Linked DNA regions of Homo sapiens: regions 1, 3, 4 and 5 are each linked to region 2. Evidence: promoter capture Hi-C in human tissues and cell types (Jung and others, 2019). All regions are on one chromosome and are shown on one strand. Each heading gives the region's core, a stretch centred on a gene start or on the middle of the fragment in contact. The rest is flanking DNA. Distances are from core to core; before and after follow the strand shown. Region 1 has its middle 8.7 kb from the start of HTT. Region 2 holds the start of TNIP2 (TNFAIP3 interacting protein 2). Region 3 holds the start of MXD4 (MAX dimerization protein 4). Region 4 overlaps HTT (huntingtin). Region 5 overlaps HTT (huntingtin).

Evidence for each region. Contacts are between HindIII fragments. The study calls those that stand out against the background at their distance.
Region 1: a contact is called between a fragment that was not itself captured here and the fragment with the promoter of TNIP2 in region 2, in 1 of the 25 tissues and cell types used here (IMR-90 fibroblasts).
Region 3: a contact is called between the fragment with the promoter of MXD4 here and the fragment with the promoter of TNIP2 in region 2, in 2 of the 25 tissues and cell types used here (bladder and lymphoblastoid cells).
Region 4: a fragment that was not itself captured here is called in contact with the fragment with the promoter of TNIP2 in region 2 in 2 of the 25 tissues and cell types used here (lymphoblastoid cells and spleen).
Region 5: a fragment that was not itself captured here is called in contact with the fragment with the promoter of TNIP2 in region 2 in 1 of the 25 tissues and cell types used here (heart left ventricle).

The regions. Positions count from the first base shown.
Region 1 is chr4:3,064,119-3,067,931 of GRCh38, forward strand. It overlaps HTT-AS. Among named protein-coding and RNA genes, the nearest start is that of HTT, 8.7 kb to the right of the region's middle. The HindIII fragment of the contact is 3,839 bases long and covers 1-3,442 here.
Region 2 is chr4:2,754,297-2,757,728 of GRCh38, forward strand. TNIP2 (TNFAIP3 interacting protein 2) reads right to left here and starts at 2,040. Exons shown (of 6, transcript NM_024309.4): 1 at 1,718-2,040. The coding sequence starts at 1,993. RefSeq lists silencers at 1,583-1,642, 1,663-2,182, 2,363-2,502. The HindIII fragment of the contact is 11,459 bases long and covers 1-3,432 here.
Region 3 is chr4:2,260,141-2,264,035 of GRCh38, forward strand. MXD4 (MAX dimerization protein 4) reads right to left here and starts at 1,969. Exons shown (of 6, transcript NM_006454.3): 1 at 1,777-1,969; 2 at 1,585-1,684. The coding sequence starts at 1,840. RefSeq lists enhancers at 496-1,088, 2,320-2,981, 2,982-3,641 and silencers at 1,189-1,248, 1,259-1,648, 1,739-1,798, 1,849-2,688. The HindIII fragment of the contact is 28,165 bases long and covers 1-3,895 here.
Region 4 is chr4:3,082,114-3,085,584 of GRCh38, forward strand. All of the region lies in intron 1 of HTT (huntingtin), which reads left to right. Among named protein-coding and RNA genes, the nearest start is that of HTT, 9.2 kb to the left of the region's middle. The HindIII fragment of the contact is 5,667 bases long and covers 1-3,471 here.
Region 5 is chr4:3,208,467-3,212,229 of GRCh38, forward strand. HTT (huntingtin) reads left to right here. Exons shown (of 67, transcript NM_001388492.1): 46 at 307-445; 47 at 1,361-1,483; 48 at 3,463-3,676. Among named protein-coding and RNA genes, the nearest start is that of MSANTD1, 39 kb to the right of the region's middle. The HindIII fragment of the contact is 4,523 bases long and covers 14-3,763 here.

The DNA of each region.
Region 1 (3,813 bases), core at 273-2,772, 310 kb after region 2:
GGAGCCTCACTCTGTTGCCCAGGCTGGAGTGCAATGGTGCAATCTCAGCTCACTACAAGCTCTGCCTCCCAGGTTCAAGTGATTCTCCTGCCTCAGCCTCCTGAGCAGTTGGGACTACAGGTGTGTGCCACCACATCTGGCTAATTTTTGTATTTTTAGCAGAGACGGGGTTTCACCATATTAACCAGGCTGGCCTCAAACTCCTTACCTTGTGATCCGCCTGCCTCAGCCTCCCAAAGTGCTGGGATTACAGGCATGAGCCACCGTGCCTGGCCAAAAGACATTGTTCTTAAAAGAATCAACTAACTAACCAAATAAATAAAAATCTAACCTAATTAAGAAACTAAAAATACACAAAAATTAATTTCAAGGGGAGAAAAATCATGTAAAGAGAGAAAGATAATGAATACTTTGCAGAAATTTATGAACATAAACATAAAACTTGGATGAAATGCATTTCTAGGAAAACATAATTTATCAAAACTAACCACAAGTAAAATAGAAGCCTAAATAGGATATTTTCAAGAGAAGAAGTAAAGTTGTCAAAGTGCTACCCTTCAAAAAAACACCAGGCTCAAACAATCTGACATGGGAATGTTAGCACACCTTAGAGAGCAAATAAAACTTTGAATGGGCTTGAAATATTCCAGACTCTAGAAAAACAAAACTTCCCAATTCTTTTTATAAAGCAAGTATAAATTGATACCAAAATCTTATAAAGACCTTATACAAAACTTCATACCAATCTCTTTTATGAATACAAAACCCTTAATAAAGTATTACCAGACAGAACCCAACAATACATAAAAATGTCACATCATAACATAGTGGGGTTTATTTCAATAATGCATGGATGGTTCAATACAAGGAAATTCAGTAACACAATATAATAGATCATGTGAATATACCCAAAGAAAAAATAGATTATTTTCATAGATGCTGTAAAGGCATTTGACCAAATTCAACACCTACTTTTTAGGTGGTCAATAAAATAAATTAGTTACTCCTTCTTTAGCATGATAAAATATATTTATCAGCCCAGAAGGCATCATTTTACCCGATAAGGGCACACGCTGGAGGGAATAATGTTAAAATTAGGAATAAGAGGATAGCTAGTTTCTTTCTTCTTTTTTTTTTTTGAGACGGAGTCTTGCTCTGTTGCCAGGCTGGAGTGCAGTGGTGCAATGTTGGCTCACTGCACGCCCCCCGCCTCCCAGGTTCAAGCGATTCTCCTGCCTCAGCCTCCCGAGTAGCTGGGACTACAGGCGCGCACCACCATGCCCGGCTAATTTTTTTTTGTATTTTAGTAGAGATGGGGTTTCACCATGTTGGTCAGGCTGGTCTTGAACTCCCAACCTCACGTACTGGGATTACCGGTGTGAGCCACCACGCCAGCCCAACTACTTTCAACATTATCCTTAATACTGATGCTTATTGACTTACTATGGGGTTACCTCTAGATAAATCCATAATAAGTTGAAAATATAAGTAAAAAATGCCCTTAATACACCTAACCTACCAAACATCATAGCTGAGCCCAGCCTGCCTTAGCTATGCTCAGACACTGACGTCAGCCTACAATTGGCAAAATCACACAGCAGCACAGTCTACTGCAGAGCATCTGCTGTTTGCCCTTGTGACTGCGTGGCTGCCTGGGAGCTTCCCAGCTTCACAAGACAGTATTACGTAGCACATCACTAGCCTGGGGAAAGATCAAAGTTGAAAATTTGAAGTGTGGTTTCCATTGAATGTGTACTGCTTTTGCACCATCATCAAGTCAAAAAATTTTAGTTGAACCAGCCTAAGTTTGGGACCATCTTTATTTTCAGGAGGAACTTCCATGTACATTGATGACGGACGATAGAATCCGTTTCTATCATCCTAATGAACATAATGAATAAATCCAGACAAACATAAACATTAACAGAGTAAGCAGCTTTCGGGGCTGGAAGCCAGAAGAGGGTGGGAGCGCAGAGAGAGAGGCCAAACACCAGGGCTGCTTCTGCTTTGCGGGTATTTGCTGATCTGGACAAGGTATCTGGAAGGCTGAGCTAAGCCTCCTTTTTTTTTGAGGTGGCGTCTCACTCTGTTGCCAGGCTGGAGTGCAATGGTGCGATCTCAGCTCACTGCAACCTCCACCTCCCTGGTTCAAGCGATTCTCCTGCCTCAGCCTCCCGAGTAGCTGGGATTACAGGCTCCCGCCACTACACCCAGCTGATTTTTGTAATTTTAGTAGAGACGGGGTTTCACCATGTTGGCCAGGATGGTCTCGATCTCTTGACGTCATGATCTGTCCACCTCGGCCTCCCAAAGTGCTGGGATTATAGGCGTGACCCACCGTGCCCCGTCTGAGCTAAGCCTCTTGAGCATAGGGGACTAAAAATGAAATCTAGCGCATGCCAAGTTTAGGGTCCCAGGCAATTCCTTTCCACTTTGGGGTCCACTTTGGGGTCCACCCCACCCAAGAAGAAGGATGACTTGGAAGTAAACCAGCTCTGAAATATGGATGGTCCTCTGGGACCATACCAATCCCTTCATATCAACCACATCCAGTTCCTCAAAACTGGAACTTGGATTAAGATGGCCTAGGACTTCTAGTGTCCCAGGAGCCTGGCATTGCAAACAAAAATCCTCTCCGGAAGAAGATAATACCTTAAGCTTCAAATGACTCTCTAATAAATTTCAAATACAATGTCCAGCACACAAACACAAATTACCAGGAACGTGATATGAGGCCTGATGGATGGGAATTAGCAGAAACTTCAGGCATGAGAAACATACCCTCAGAGGCCTAGAATCTATCTAGTGTCTAGATAATGGAGATATGAAATACAGACACTTAAACAACTATGTTTCCCATGTTCAAAGAGGAAATTTGCAAAACTTGAAAGTGTTGGCAGGAAATCAGAAACTATAAAATGTGACAACAGCATACTTTAGAGTCAGTATAAATTACGGTCCCGAAAACTGCAGAATTCCAGAACTTAATGGTAAAGCAAGGGTTTAACAGCAGAATAGAAATAGCCAGAGAGAACTAGGAAGTAAGTCAGATGACACTACCCAGAATAAGGCACTGAGAGGCCAAGGAATGGAAAATGCAGAAGAAAGGATATGGTGAGAGGATCTAATATACATTTATTTGGAGTACCAGGGAGAGAGAGAAGGAGAAGAACAGAAGCCGTGTTTCAAGGACGGTGACTGAGAGGCTTCGAAACTGATGAAAGCCATCAGTTCACAAATTCAAAGCCCAGTGAATTCCAAGGAGAAAAAAAGAAATCCATACTGTGAAAGCAAGTCCAGACAATGACAAACACCATCAACAATACACAGGACAGGCATAAGATGCATTTAATGGGGACACTCAGAGGCAGAGGGTTATCAGAAGGAGGCACTTCTCTCCCAAGTTCTCATCATCCCAGGGCCAGGGACAGCTGGTCACACCTTAGGGAGTTCACTAGGAGAGGGATCTGGCTTCTTGTCATTCTGGGTATTTGTAGGGAAATTGGAAGGGAACCGAGAGCACCTAGCCAATCGCATAGCAATGGGAGATTTCAGGCTGTGGGGAATGTCTTTGCTGGTGAAAAGAACATCCTGACCTTAGAAATCTTTCACCGAGGGGGATCTGCGTTCCAGAACTTCTGGAGCTGGTATAGGTAAGGCTTTGAGCTTTCCTACTGAGCCAGCCTGTTGCTAGGTTACCAAAGGGGACCTCGAGGGCCATCTGGCCAACAAGCAGACTTGTCTCTCCTTACACCCCCAGACGTATCACTGCAAAACTACAGAAAACCAAAGACAGAGAAAATCTTAAAAGCA
Region 2 (3,432 bases), core at 790-3,289:
AAATACTATTGCACAAAAAAACTGTTACTTATACTGCTGTTGTGGTGTTATAGTTTATCATCAAAAAACAGACATAAACATCATAGACAAGGACAAAGAGAAGAAAGTCAGGATTTGCGTCTTTTTTTGTTTGTTTTTGAGACGGAGTCTCGCTCTGTCGCCCAGGCTGGAGTGCAGTGGCACAATCTCGGCTCACTGCAAGCTCCGCCGCCCGGGTTCATGCCATTCTCCTGCCTCCGCCTCCCAAGTAGCTGGGACTACAGGCGCCCGCCACCACGCCCAGCTAATTTTTTGTATTTTTAGTAGAGATGGGTTTTCACCATGTTAGCCAGGATGGTCTCAATCTCCTGACCTCGTGATCCGCCGCCTTGGCCTCCCAAAGTGCTGGGATTACAGGCATGAGCCACCGCGTCCGGACCCTTGTGTCCATTTTTAATTTAATTTTTTCAGACAAGGTCTCACTTTGTCACCCAGGTTGGAGTGCAGTGGTGCGATCTTGGCTCACTGCAACCTCTGCCTCCCAGGCTCAAGTGATCCTCCCACCTAAGTCTCCCTAGTGGCTGGGAGCACGGGCACGTGCCACCATGCCCGGCTAATTTTTTGCACTTTTTGTAGACAGGGTTTCACCATGTTGCTCAGCCTTGTCTCGAACTCCTGGGCTCAGGCAATCTGCCCGCCTTGCCTCCGAAAGTACTGGGATTACAGGCGTGAGCCACTGCACCCAGCCTAGGATTTGTGTCCTTTATCAGACACGGGCTGCATTTGCCATTGCTCCCAGCATAGAGTTGAAGCGCCACTAGTGAAAGACACATGCATGGGTGAGGGCTGGAAGGGACTCTAGAACACAATATGAGTACACGACCTTGGACCCAAGACACACATGTGTGCGTACACACACACACCATACACACCCCTCAGAATGTGTCTCCCGCACACACACCTCAAAACACCCCTAAGAACCAACCGGAACATACACACTACACAATACACACAGAATACACACAGCATACACACACCCCCCTCGGAATGTGTTCCCACACACGAACCTCAAAATACCCCTAAGAGCCCACCTGAACATACACCACACACACACAGAACCCAAGAACTGCACCAACCCCCCTCCTCAGAACCCAGTGCCTCCTCACCATCCCCCAGGACCCAGTGCCCTCCCAACCCCCCAGGATCCAGCATTCGCTTATCCCCTTCAGAACCTTGCACCCTCACCCCGCAGGACCCAGAGCCCCCTCACCTCCACCAGCACCTGGTGACGCCTCAAACCCCCCAGGACCCAGCACACCTCAGCCCGTGGTGTCCCCTTATCCCACTCAGGACCTGGTCCCCCTCTCTCCCCTAGGACCCAGGGTCCCCTCACCCCCCAGAAGCTGTTGCCCTATCACCCCCAGGACCCGACGGCCCCTTACCCCCAGGACCTAGTGTCCCTCAACCCCAGGACCCGGCACCCCCTCAACCCCCAGGACCTGATGCTCCCCCAACCCCTCAGGAGCCGGGGCCCCCTCACCCCCAGGACCCGGCACCCCCTCAACTCCCAGGACCTGGTGCTCCCCCAACCCCTCAGGACCCGAGGCCAACTCAACCCCAGGACCCAGTACCCCCTCAACCCCTCAGGACCCGGGGCCCGCTCGCTCACCCACCCAGGACCCGGCGGCCGCCACACGCACTCTCGCTCCCGCAGCTCCTCTGGTACCCGCCCTCGTACCTGGCGCATCTGGGCCTCGGCGGCGCCGCCCTCCTGCCTTCGCAGCTGCTCCCGGAAGCGCGCAACCTGCTCCAGCAGCGCGTCCACTAGGGACGGCGCGGCGTCCCCCTCCAGCGCGGCCAGGCGGGCGCGGAGGCGAGCGATGAGGGCGTCGCGGGCAGCGAGCTGGTCCTGCAGGCGGCGCAGCCGCTGTCCGGCCTCGTGGTACAGGGTGCAGAGCGCGGCAGCTGCGCGCGGGGCCTCCTCCCAGCCGCCCGACCCCGGGTCCCGGGACATGGCTGTAGGCCCGCCCGGGAGGCCGCGCGGCCGCCGGCAACTTCCGCGCCCGGGCCCCGCCGGCTGCCGCCCTTCCCGGAACTTTCCCCGGTGCGCCCCGCCCACCCACAACAGCCCGGCCCCGCCCTCCCCCACGCAGCCCCGCCCCCCGCGCAGCCCCGCCCTTCCCCGCGCAGCCCCGCCCGACGGCAGCCCGCCCAGCCCCTTCTCGCCCGGCCCCACCCCTCCCACCGCCTACAGCCCGGCCCCGCCCCTGCCGTCCGCACCCGTCCGGGAGAGTTGGCCTGGCCCCCGAGGCTGTCCACACCCCAGCTGGTGCTGGGCTTATTCCAGTGGCCCCAAACATCCGCCTCTGAGGAGTTGTCGGAGAGTCGAACTCAGCCCAGGAGTTTGGGGATTCATCAGCCTCTGATGGAAAGGAAGGGCTTAACGACAACCCCCAAGCTCTGGAGCTAAGTGTGGGTCTGAATCTCCCCGCGAGGGTCCAGGCCTTGCGGCCACAGCAGCAACAGAAGCTCCAGGAGCTGAGCTCGCAGCGCACCAAGCACGTGGCATGTGTTCCGTCACCTGGGGACACTGAGCCCAGAAAGAGCTCCAACCCCCTGCCCCGCACGCCGCTTTCTTTTTTCTTTCCTTTTTTTTCTTCTTTTTGAGACGGAGTTTCGCTCTGTTGCCCAGGCTGGAGTGTAATGGCGCGATCTCGGCTCACTACAACCTCCGCCTCCCAGTTTCAAGCGATTCTCCTGCCTCAGCCTCCTGAGTAGCTGGGATTACAGGCGCCCGCCACCATGCCCTGCTAATTTTTTGGTATTATTAGTAGAGATGGTGTTTCACCATGTTGGCCAGGCTGGTCTTGAACTCCTGACCTCAGGTAGATCCACCGGCCTCAGCCTCCCAAAGTGCTGGGATTACAGGCGTCAGCCACTGCAGACGCTGCTTTGTAAGGTGGCTAGTATGGGCCCACGGGACAACCTTCCTGCTAGATGCTGTTCTTATATAGCAGAAGCAGCAGGAAACCAGCCCCTTCCCACCCTTTCGCTTTTCCATCCCTTTCCTTCCCCAAAATTCCCAGACAAACGCTAGTGTTTTTCCACAGCCCAGTCTTCCCCACAATGATGCCCAAGCACACATGGGGTCTTTCCAAGGTTCCCTACTCAGGATAGGGCAGGGGTCTTCCCTGTGTGTGCACTTGCCCACAGGCTCCGCCCCTGAGCAGCTTCTTGACTTTCTTCCCTTATGTGATCCACAGCCAAGCCTGAGCTGAGCCTGGGAAAACACAAGCTTGTAGAATCAGACAAGCCTATAAGCAAAGCCAGAGCCACCCAAGTGCTTATGGCCCGGACATTGGGCTACACAGGCCTGGCTTTGCTATGGAAGGCTCCTTCTTACTCATCAGAGCCTGGGCTTCCTCTCAGCAGAAGGAAGGGCAGAGCGAGTGC
Region 3 (3,895 bases), core at 719-3,218, 490 kb before region 2:
AGCGGGGCTCGGCCCAGAGGAGCCAGGGGAGATGCACCAGAGTTGGGGAGCCCTCTGTCTCCCTCACCAGTGCCCCCATGGTCTCTGTCCCAGCAGAATGTGGACAGCTGGGACCCCATCTCAGGAACAGGCGTCATCAGAGATGGGTGAGTGGCAGGCAAGTAACCAAACCTCTCCTTGCCTCAGTTTCCTTGGCCATAGAGATAAAAATCACATCACCTCTCTGAGCCTGGGGTGAAGATGAACTGGCTGCATGTGTGAAACGCTCAGCATAGAGGCAGTGTTCGGGCAGCCTTGGCCAGGACGCTGGTTGTCAGCTTTGGATTCTCCATGCTGGGGGAGCCCCAGCTCACGCCCCAGAGTTCTCCACGGGTCAGGGACTTGGTTTGGAGAGAAGCGGCAGCGGGGGCCGGGCTTGCTCACTGAGGAGGCCTGAGGCAATGGTTCCCTCGTCACACTCCTGTCCTTCCCCAAACTGTCCCCAGTAGGGGACCAGGGGCTGGGACTCAGGGACGGGTCCCAGCCAGGGCAGCTGGAGACTCAACCAATTCCTCGCCTGGCTCAGGATGCCACAGAAATGGGTCCCTACACCAGCCTTTCGGATTCCCTAGAACAGGTGGACCACAGGAATGAGCCATGCCCTGGGGCTCTGAAGCCCCCTACAAACGCAGCTCCCAGCCTGCTCACACAAAAGGGCTGGGCCAAGGTGGGCCCAGACAGGACCAGGTGTGCTATGGTCCTCACAGCAGCCAGGAGGGTGGAAATCCCCGGGGAGCCCCGGCCCAGGGTCCCCACTCCCCACGCGGGGGACCTGTACGCACCCCAGCTTCAGGGCTTCTGCTGCCTGAACACGAGGTCAAGGTATGGAGGGCGCAGCTGGCACCCGTAGTAACGACTTCATGGGGCCCCTGCCCTGCAGCCTGCCCCCTCCTCCCGCCCCCTTAAAAGGCCTCTGTCTTAAAAAAGAGGACCCCCATACTGGTGGCTGGAGTTTCGCTGTGTCAGGAGGCTGGGCAGAAGCGGTGGGCACCCTGGGAGGAGTGAGGGCCCAGGACAGCGCCTCCACTCGCTTCTCTGTCTAGGCTCCTGGGGGCGGGGGAAGGTGGCCGAGCAGCAGAGTTCGGCTGGCAGAGCCAGTCGAAAGGAGGCCGCCCACCCACCCGCGGAGAGAAGGGGTTAGGGCCGGCAGCCCCCGCAGACCCTGGCTGAGCCTGTTTCCCCAGACCCACGGGGCACCGGCCAGCGCCCGCTGACAACTTTTCTACCGCCTGGAAAAGTCCAGAACAACTCGGGGGCGGGGAGCGGGCGCGGGAGCGGACCCCGGCGGCGGGCGCTGTACGCGTGGCACTGTTTACGCGAGCGGCCCGGGAGGCGCGGCCGCGGGAAGATGGCGACGGCGAGGGCGGGGCCGGCCGGGCGGGGCTGCGGCCGCGGCCTGCGCGCCTCCTCCTCCAGGCTGGCCGCCGGGGCGCGCGGCGGCGGCGCTGAGGGCCGCGGGCCGGGAATCGGGGCCCGGAGAGCACGCTCCGGGCGGGGGCGGGGGTTCGGACCGGGCCGGGCGGGGTCGGGAGCGGGGGGCGGTACCTGTTGTTCGGGGCCTTGCGCACCAGGCCGGCCGCCTTTGTTTTCTCCCTGGCGAAGTCGCCGTCGAAGGGCAGCACCGAGGCGTAGCCGTGCTCGGCCTCTGCGGACACACGGCGCGGTCAGCGGCCCCCGCCCGGCACGGCCCCGCCGCCCGCCCACCGCCGCGGGCGCACAATGGGGTGCGAGCGCTACCTCGATCCCTGCGCTCCAGGTACTCGGCCGCCTCCAGCAGGATCAGCAGGGAGTTCAGCTCCATCCTCCCGCCCGCGCCCGTCCGCCCCGGGACGGCGGCGGCCGCTGCCCGGCCCGCTCCGGCCGGCTCCGCTCGCCGCCCACCCCGCGCGCCCGGCCGCCGCACTTCCAGACTCCGCGGACTCCGGCGCTCGGCCGCCACCCTCCGCCTCAGGCCCTCAAATTGACACATAAGGGAGAGCGGCGGCCCGCAGAGCCAATGGGAGGCGGCGTTCGCGCCCCGGGGGCGGGCGCCGGGCCGGGCTGGGGCCAATGGGGACGGGTCGAGCGCCTCGGGCCGGGCCGAGAATGTTGACAGATGCAGAGCTGGGCTGGGATAGGCCGGCCGCGCTAGTAACAATTTAGAAGCCCGAGCTTAGCAACAGCACGTGGTGGCCCGGCCCCCGCGCTAGCTGACTGGCGGCCGCCGTGCATGTTAAGTAGGCGCCGCGCGCCGATTGGCCAGAGCGGCCTATGTAAAACAGGCACTGCGAGCCAATGGCCGGTGGCGGGGCGCGCGGCCAATGAGGGCGCCGCAGCCGGACGCGTTGCCGAGAGGAAGCGCAGCGCGCGGGGACCGCCCGCCGTCCTGGGGGCCCGTTAGGACGCAGGAGCGTCTCCGCTACGAGAGCGAAGCAGGGCGCTCCGGGGCGTGCGCCGGGCCGGGCCGGGCCGCCGGGTCTGAGCGCGACGAAAGCAGTGGCTGCGTGGGGGGACGAGGCCTCGCGCTCTGCCCGGGGGTCTTGCGTGGGGCCGTGAACGACTCCCCTCCCCGCCGGGCGCAGAGTGGCCCCGGGAAGGGCCGGGACCTCGGAGAGGGACGCAGACGCTCTGATCCTAAGAGCCAGGCGTCTCTGAGGGTGTCAGTGGGGAAACAGGCCCAGAGCGGGCGGGCTCCTCAGATCGCCCAGTGGACGCCGGAGCTGAGGGAGGGCCCAGGTCTGGGGAAGGGACACAGACGTGCGGCCAGAGTCGAGAGGCTCCCCGGAGTGGGGGGCTGCATGCTCTGTGTCTGGCCTGAGGGGCAGGGACGTTCCTAGAGGCAGGCGCTGGCCACCTCTGGCCGAGGACGCCCTAAGTGGGGACGGGAGTGAACCCTTCATCAAATCCCAGCTGGCGGGTCTCCCTAGTGACCCCTGACCCTAAGGCTGGCCCAGACTGGCCTCGGCACCCCCCACCCTCTCGCAGATTTTTTTTTTTTTTTTTTTTGAGACGGCTCTGTTGCCCAGGCTGGAATGCAGTGGCGTGATGTCAGTTCACTGCAACCTCCGCCTCCCGGGTTCAAGCGATTCCCCTGCCTCAGCCTCCCAAGTAGCTGGGACTACAGGCGCGTGCCACCACGCCCAGCTAATTTTTGTATTTTTAGTAGAGATGGGGTTTCACCATGGATGGTCTGGATCTCCTGACCTCGTGATCCGCCCGCCTCGGCCTCCCAAAGTTCTGGGATTACAGGTGTGAGCCACCTCGCCCGACCCATCTCACTGATTTGATTTTTGAGGTTGGTGGCCTGGATGTGCCAAGGGCCAGGCCCCGCAGGCTGGAGAGTGTGGAGGCATAAGGTGGCTGGACCCCTCCAGAAGTACTCAGTGGGACACAGGGGCTGCTGCTGGCAATGAAACTGAACAAAAAATGCAAAACCTCAGCACCAGGACTCCTGTGAAAGCTTCGTGTGCATCTCCCTGTGTTTTGCATGCCCGGCTTGCAGATCAGGACATGGGACTAGACGCTCAGGGATTTGCTGGGGTCTCCCAGAAATCTCAGCAGAATGGAGATTAGTGCTGCCACACACGGCTCAGGGCTATAGGAATGCAGAGGCCAGAGCCTCCTGGCCTGGCTGGTCCTGCTGGGTGTAAGCCTGTGGTGTGGGCTTCAGAATAATGTGTGTTCCCACAGAGCCCTGCAGGACCCAGTGGGGAACTCGGACACTGCTATGAGACAGCCCTGCATGGACATTGAGACAACCCCCTTGATGTTAGCAGGGGCCCTTCCTGTTCCCGCCCCACAGTGACGCCAGGGCCCAAGGCAGAGCCCCTCACAAGAACTCAGCACTGAGGCCCTCCAGGTTTGTCTGCATGGCTGC
Region 4 (3,471 bases), core at 227-2,726, 330 kb after region 2:
TATGTATTTTTTTACTTAACAATGTGTCATAGATATTGTTCCATAGCAGTACCTGTAATTCTTATTAATTGCTATGTAATATTTTAGAATTTCTTTTTAAAAGAGGACTTTTGGAGATGTAAAGGCAAAGGTCTCACATTTTTGTGGCTGTAGAATGTGCTGGTGACATATTCTCTCTACCTTGAGAAGTCCCCATCCCCATCACCTCCATTTCCTGTAAATAAGTCAACCACTTGATAAACTACCTTTGAATGGATCCACACTCAAAACATTTAGTCTTATTCAGACAACAAGGAGGAAAAATAAAATACCTTATAAAGCACTGTTTAATATTGTATTAAATTGGATCAATTTGGGGGCTAGAATGTATGTTAGAGACATGATATGTCCATAGGTCCTTGCTATCACAGTGAGGTCTCAGGGACAGTCGTTTGGTATCATTTGGGATCTCATAAGCAGACTCTCTCTGCTTGACCTGACAAATCAGAGTCTGTGTTTTAACAGGTTCAGTGAGTGACTTACATGCACATTGGAGTTTGGGAAGCTCCACTGTAGGTGCTTAGACCTTACCTTTGTTGTTGCTAATAACAATGCAAGCATTTGGGAGGAAGACCTGTGTTGCTCATATGTGTCCAGGTGTAGCTGAGGTGGCCTTGCTTATCTGCTGTAGGGCCGTTGAGCATTTCTGTAGCTGTGATGAGTGAGCTGAGGTGAGCCTGCGGAGAGCTCCCAGCCATTGGTAGTGGGACTCGCTTAGATGAACTGGAAGGACCCTTTCATCTGAGCAGCCACTATGGAGAAAAACAACCGAATGAGGGGAGAGACAATGTGCAATTTTATTTAGGGCACAAAGGAGAGCTGTGGTTAGAAGGTGACATTTGAGTGGAAAGGGGGCAAGCCATGTGTATAGCGGGAGAAGAGAGGTCCAGGCAGAGTTAACAGAAGGCAGAAATGCTTTCCATGTTTGAGAACCAGTAAGGAGGCCAGTGGCTGAAGTAAGGTGAAGGGCAGAAATAAGGATGAGGCTGCGAGAGATGAGAGGTTAGAGACGAGCGTCTTGTGCACCAAGATAAGCTTGTGTGGTCAAAACAAGTAGTTTAATTTATGTTTTTAAAAGATCATTTTGGCTGGGCACAATGGTTCATGCCTGTAATACCAGTAGTTTGAGACGGTGTGGTGGGAGGATTGCCTGAGGCCAGACGACCAGCATAGCCAACATAGCAGCACCTATAAGGTCTCTACAAAAAACTTTAAAAAATTAGCTGGGCATAGTGGTGTGTGCCTGTAGTCCCAGCTACTCAGGAGGCTGAGGAGGCTGGAGGATTGCTTGAGTCCAGGAGTTTGAGGCTGCAGTGAGCTATGATTATGCCACTACACTACAACCTGGGCAAGAGAGTGAGACCCTGTCTCTAAATATACACACACACACACACACACACACACACACACACACACACACACACACACACACACATATATATGTATATATATGCATTTAGATGAAAAGATCACTTTGACAATACCACATGCTGGTGAGGATTTAGAAAAACTAGGTCACTTATTGCTGGTGGGAATATAATATAGTACGGCCACTCTGGAAAACAGTTTGGCAGTTTGTCATAAAACTGAACATACCGTTAGTATACAGCCCAGCAGCAACTACAATCCTGGGCATTAATCCTAGAGAAATGAAACCTTAATGTTCACATAAAAACCTATACTCAAGTATGCATAGCAGCTTTACCCATAATATCTAAGAACTGGAATCAGCTCAGATGTCCTTCAACAGGTGAATGGTTAAACTACTCAGTAATAAAAAGGAATGAGCTACTGATAGCATGCAACAGTTTAGGTGAAGTTATGCTAATGAAAAAAGCCAATCCCAAAAGGTTATACATACTGTATGATTCTATGTTTTTTTGCAATGGCACAGTTTTAGGGATGGAGAATAGATTAGTGGTTGCCTGGGGTTAGAGATGGGGTAGTAGAGTAGGTTAGTGGTGGCAGAGGAGAGAAAAGAGAGGGAGGTGAATGTGGTTATAAAAGGACAACACAGGGGAATACTTGTAATGGAAATGCTTTGTCTTTTTTTTTTTTTTTTTTTTTTTGGCGACAGAGTCTTGCTCTGTTGCCCAGGCTGGAGTGCAGTGGCATGATCTTTTCTCACTGCAACCTCTGCCTCCTGGGTTCAAGTGATACTTGTGTCTCAGTCTCCCATGTTCAGAGTGAAACAAACCAGAGGTAATGTTCATCCAAATAATCCAACACACATGACATTAAAACATCAAGATCAGGTCGGACGTGGTGGCTCATGCCTGTAATCCCAGCACTTTTGGGAGGCCAAGGTGGGCAGATCACTTGAGGTCAGGAGTTCGAGACCAGCCGGGCCAACATGATGAAACCCCATCTTGACTAAAAATACAAAAATTAGCCGGGCATGGTGGTGTGCACCTGTAGTCCCAGCTACTTGGGAGGCTGAGGCAAGAGAACTGCTTGAACCCGAGGGGCAGAGGTTGCAGTGAGCTGAGAGTGCGCCATTGCACTTCAGCCTGTGTGACAGAGTAAGACTCCATCTCCAAAAAAAAAAAACCAAGATCAATTAAAATACAGCATTACTGGGCCGGGTGTGGTGGCTCACACCTGTAATCCCAGCACTTTGGGAGGCCGAGATGGGCAGATCACGAGGTCAGGAGATCCAGACCATCCCGGCTAACACGGTGAAACCCCGTCTCTACTAAAAAATACAAAAAATTAGCCGGGTATAGTGGTGGGTGCCTGTAGTCCCAGCTACTTGGGAGGCTGAAGCAGGAGAATGGTGTGAACCCGGGAGGCAGAGCTGGCAGTGAGCTGAGATCGCGCCACTGCACTCCAGCCTGGGCGACAGAGCAAGACTCCGTCTCGGGGGAAAAAAAAAAATAAATAAATAGAATGCTGTAGTGTCCTTGAGTTTACATGCCCCTCCTTACGCTTGTGTGCCCGTGCAGATTGCTTGATTACACAATTAGAGGAGGCTGGCGGAGGATTGTTTTAATTTTTTTTTTTTTGAGACAGTCTGGCTCTGTTCCCCAGGCTAGAGTGCAATGGCGCAATCTTGGTGCACTGCAACCTCTGCCTCCTGGGTTCAAGCAGTTCTTCTGCCGCAGCCTCCCGAGTAGCTGGGATTATAGGCGCCCGCCACCACGCCCAACTATTTTTTGTATTTTTAGTAGAGCAGCGTTTCACCATGCTGGCCAGGCTGGTCTCGAACTCCTGACCTCAGATGATCTGCTGCCCCAGCCTCCCAAAGTGCTGGGATTACAGGCGTGAGCCACACCTGGCCGTTTGTTTTAATTTTGAAGGTGAAGTGAAAGTGACTACATTTACCAAAAGTGATTGAAAAGCCAGGACTGTTCTTACCCTGTTTTTCCAGTTCTTGCTCAGAGCAAGGTGGTTTCTTTTTCACTTAATCACCATACTTACTTTTCATGTAGA
Region 5 (3,763 bases), core at 1,025-3,524, 450 kb after region 2:
TACTGTGTATTGCCTGTTGCAGTGTTTGAGTATAAATGAAATTTCTGGAAAATATTAATGGAGTACAAACTGTGATACTTAAAAGTAAACTAGGGCCTGCATTTGTATCATGACCTGTTTGAGTATTGATGAGAAGATAGCTGTGAAGAAAAAGGTTTAAACAAGTGTATTTTCCTTTAAGAAGCCACTAATAGTGCATCTCCTTAGAGTGTATATTTCTAGAATCCTAGTGTGCAGAGTTTAGACTAAGACTAAAAAAAAAAAAAAACAAATTATACTGTAATTTCATTTTTATTTGTATTTTAGACACCAAAGGCTCTATTCCCTGCTGGACAGGTTTCGTCTCTCCACCATGCAAGACTCACTTAGTCCCTCTCCTCCAGTCTCTTCCCACCCGCTGGACGGGGATGGGCACGTGTCACTGGAAACAGTGAGTCCGGACAAAGTAAGTGTCCAGCGTGTCTGCATGGGAGGCACAGGGCGCTGAGTGCCTCTGTCACCTGTGGCAGATACAGAGAGTGCAGAGGAGGTGCCGTGGACCCAAGGAGTTCTGGCGCTCGGCTCGGCTCAGTGAAGCTGTGGTTAGAGACGTGGGGGGCCATCAAGGTCTGAGGGAGCCAAGCAGTGCTGATGTGGGACCCTTTTGGTAGGAGTGTGGGGTGAGTAGTTAGTGGGTGAATCAAGGAATAGTCGGCCGTGGCCTGCAGGCCCCTGACTGCACAGGCCTTCAAGCACATGTCAATGCCGTTAGCCTCCCTCCATCTCCTCATACCTTCTGGCCACCTGTGAGTTGCACTGCCACTGCCAGCCATTCTGGTATGTTGTCAGCACCTCCACTGCTCATACCTCATGGTTAGGGACCACCTGGAGCCTTGGTAGAGCCTTGGTAGAGCCTTGGTACTCTACTTTCCTGGACAAAGTTCAGCTTATGAATATGAATTTAGATTTCAAAAACCAGCAGCCCAAGTATAAGAAAGCGAAGGTTCAGTCCTGCCTTCTTAGGCTCTATTCGCTAAGCACCTGCCCTGCCCTGGTTGCTGGGGAGAGATGAGTAAAGCAGACAACCCAGGAGAGGATGGCAAAGGGGCCGCTAACCCTTAGTGGTTTAGCTATATTTGGAAGGCCTATTGGAAGTTCACCAGGTGAAGGGGGAGGCTGTGAGGGTGCCCAGGCAGGTAACAGAAGTCCAAAGGGGAAAACCTGTGGTGTGGTGAGCCGTATAGCCACAGCCTGCCGGCCGGCAGCCCTCTCAGCCTAGTGCGGTGTTCCCAAGCACTGGCCTAGGCCTGTAGCTCCAGGGATGTGAAGTCCCCTTGAACGCCGCCCATCATGTTCCCCTTATCCATTTTTTTCTTCCCAGGACTGGTACGTTCATCTTGTCAAATCCCAGTGTTGGACCAGGTCAGATTCTGCACTGCTGGAAGGTGCAGAGCTGGTGAATCGGATTCCTGCTGAAGATATGAATGCCTTCATGATGAACTCGGTACGGGGGGAGCAGTGGAGGCAAGGAATCCTCAGCTTTTCTTGTGACTTCCAAGTGGGATTTGTCTCATCATCATGTGACCCACTTGTTGACAACACATGTTGGGGACTCCAGTCTGGGCAGGGACGGGATGTCGGAGAGACTCCACTCTGAATGGGGCCGGGAAGTGGGGAGGACTCCATTTCAGATGGGGTCGGGACATGGGGGTTATGCTGATCGAGACAGAAAAGCACATTGTTTCAGCCACATTAGAATCCACGGAGGTGTTGTTTTGAAATCCAGCTGGCCCCAAGGCTGGGTGTATGGTTTGGGATGAGAACTATCTGGCCTCCACTGGAGGAACAAACACAGGATGTTATCATCTAAGCTCCATGGCCAAGACAGAATGGAAGTCAAGGTTGCGTATTTGCCGTAGACTTCAACACAGTGTCGTAATGCGTGACGTCAATAACTTGTTTCTAGTGTCTTGGAAGTTGATCTTTAGTCGTAAAAGAGACCCTTGGATGCAGCGAGATTTCCTCTACTCACACCTCTGTTAGATGTAGTGAGGTTCTTCACCCCCCAACCCCAGATGTCAGAGGGCACCCTGCGCAGAGCTAGGAGGCCATGCAAAGCCTTGGTGTCCCTGTCCCTCACCCGTGGGCAGGTCCTGTGAGCAGTGGGGGGGCCACCTCTTGGGTATGGTGCAGCCATGGCCCAAGCAGGGCTTCTTCTCAGACCTACTAGGACGGGAGAAACCTCCTGGTGCTTTAGCCCTGCGTTGATATGCAGCAAATGGGAGGGAAGTGGGCACCTGGGAGGACAAATGCCTGTAGAGGCCGGGAGTGACGGCAGGTGTTCATGAAAAGAGACCTTGTGGGGAGGGCAACACAACAGTGTGTTCTGATGTACTGAAGAGCTCAACTGAAAACAACAGGAGAATTAGCCCAAAATCCATTTACTAAAATTGTTTATCTTTTTTTTTTTTTTTGAGACAAAGTCTCGCTGTTGTCCCCCAGGCTGGAGTGCAATGGCGCTATCTTGGCTCACTGCAACCTCCGCCTCCTGGGTTCATACGATTCTCCTGCCTCAGCCTCCCAAATAGCTGGTATTAACAGGCATGCACCACCACGCCCGGCTAATTTTTGTATTTTTAGTAGAGACGGGATTTCACCATGTTGGCCAGGCTGGTCTCAAACTCCTGACCTCAGGTGATCCGCCCACCTCGGCCTCCCAAAGTGCTGGGATTATAGGCCTGAGCCACCACGCCCGGCCTAAAATTGTTTATCTTAAGATTCATGCAGTGAAAGCTAACTTACTGAGTGATAAATTTGCTTAGTGATCTGTTTATTAGGTTTTCCAAATTTGCTAATTGGGCTTTGAACAGCTGTAAAAGTTCTGACTGTAAAAGAAAGCTTCAACTTTTGGCATTCATGATGCTTTTCTGAGTATTAAACTAAGATAGATGTTTTACCTGAAGGATCGGCCACCAATCTTTAAATGGCTAAACAAAAGGGTTGCTAAAACATAATCCAAATTGACATAAGAAATACCATTTTTCCAACCAAAATTTTGGCATTCATATGGCTACTTTTACGTATTTCAGCTGCATTTGAACATCTTTTTCAAACTTTAGGGTGGTTGGTGTATCACTGAGGTCTTGGATGACACTTTAGCTTTGATTTTGTTTTTATGAATTAAAATTGTCATACCAAAATTTTTATTTCAAGCAAATCCAAGAGCATAAAAAATTAAAATATTACTTAAAATACTAAGAGAGAACAGATATATATTTTACTAAGCATATGTTGAATGAAATTGTTCAAATATTTATAACAGGCATAGAGTAGAATTTTCTTAAAAATATTTTTGATGGTATACCAATTTGTATTTTCTCAGAAACATTTGCCTTATTCTTTTTTCTGTTGTGTTTTTCTTACCTGATTGAAAGCTCATAATCTGTTGTTATTGTTTGTTAACCTTTAATGCTCTGATTTCAGGAGTTCAACCTAAGCCTGCTAGCTCCATGCTTAAGCCTAGGGATGAGTGAAATTTCTGGTGGCCAGAAGAGTGCCCTTTTTGAAGCAGCCCGTGAGGTGACTCTGGCCCGTGTGAGCGGCACCGTGCAGCAGCTCCCTGCTGTCCATCATGTCTTCCAGCCCGAGCTGCCTGCAGAGCCGGCGGCCTACTGGAGCAAGTTGAATGATCTGTTTGGTAATTAAAATTAAAATTTATCTTATTTTTAAAAAGCATTCCAGGGCCAGTATAGTACTTTGCACCAAGTAAATGTACAATAAAGGC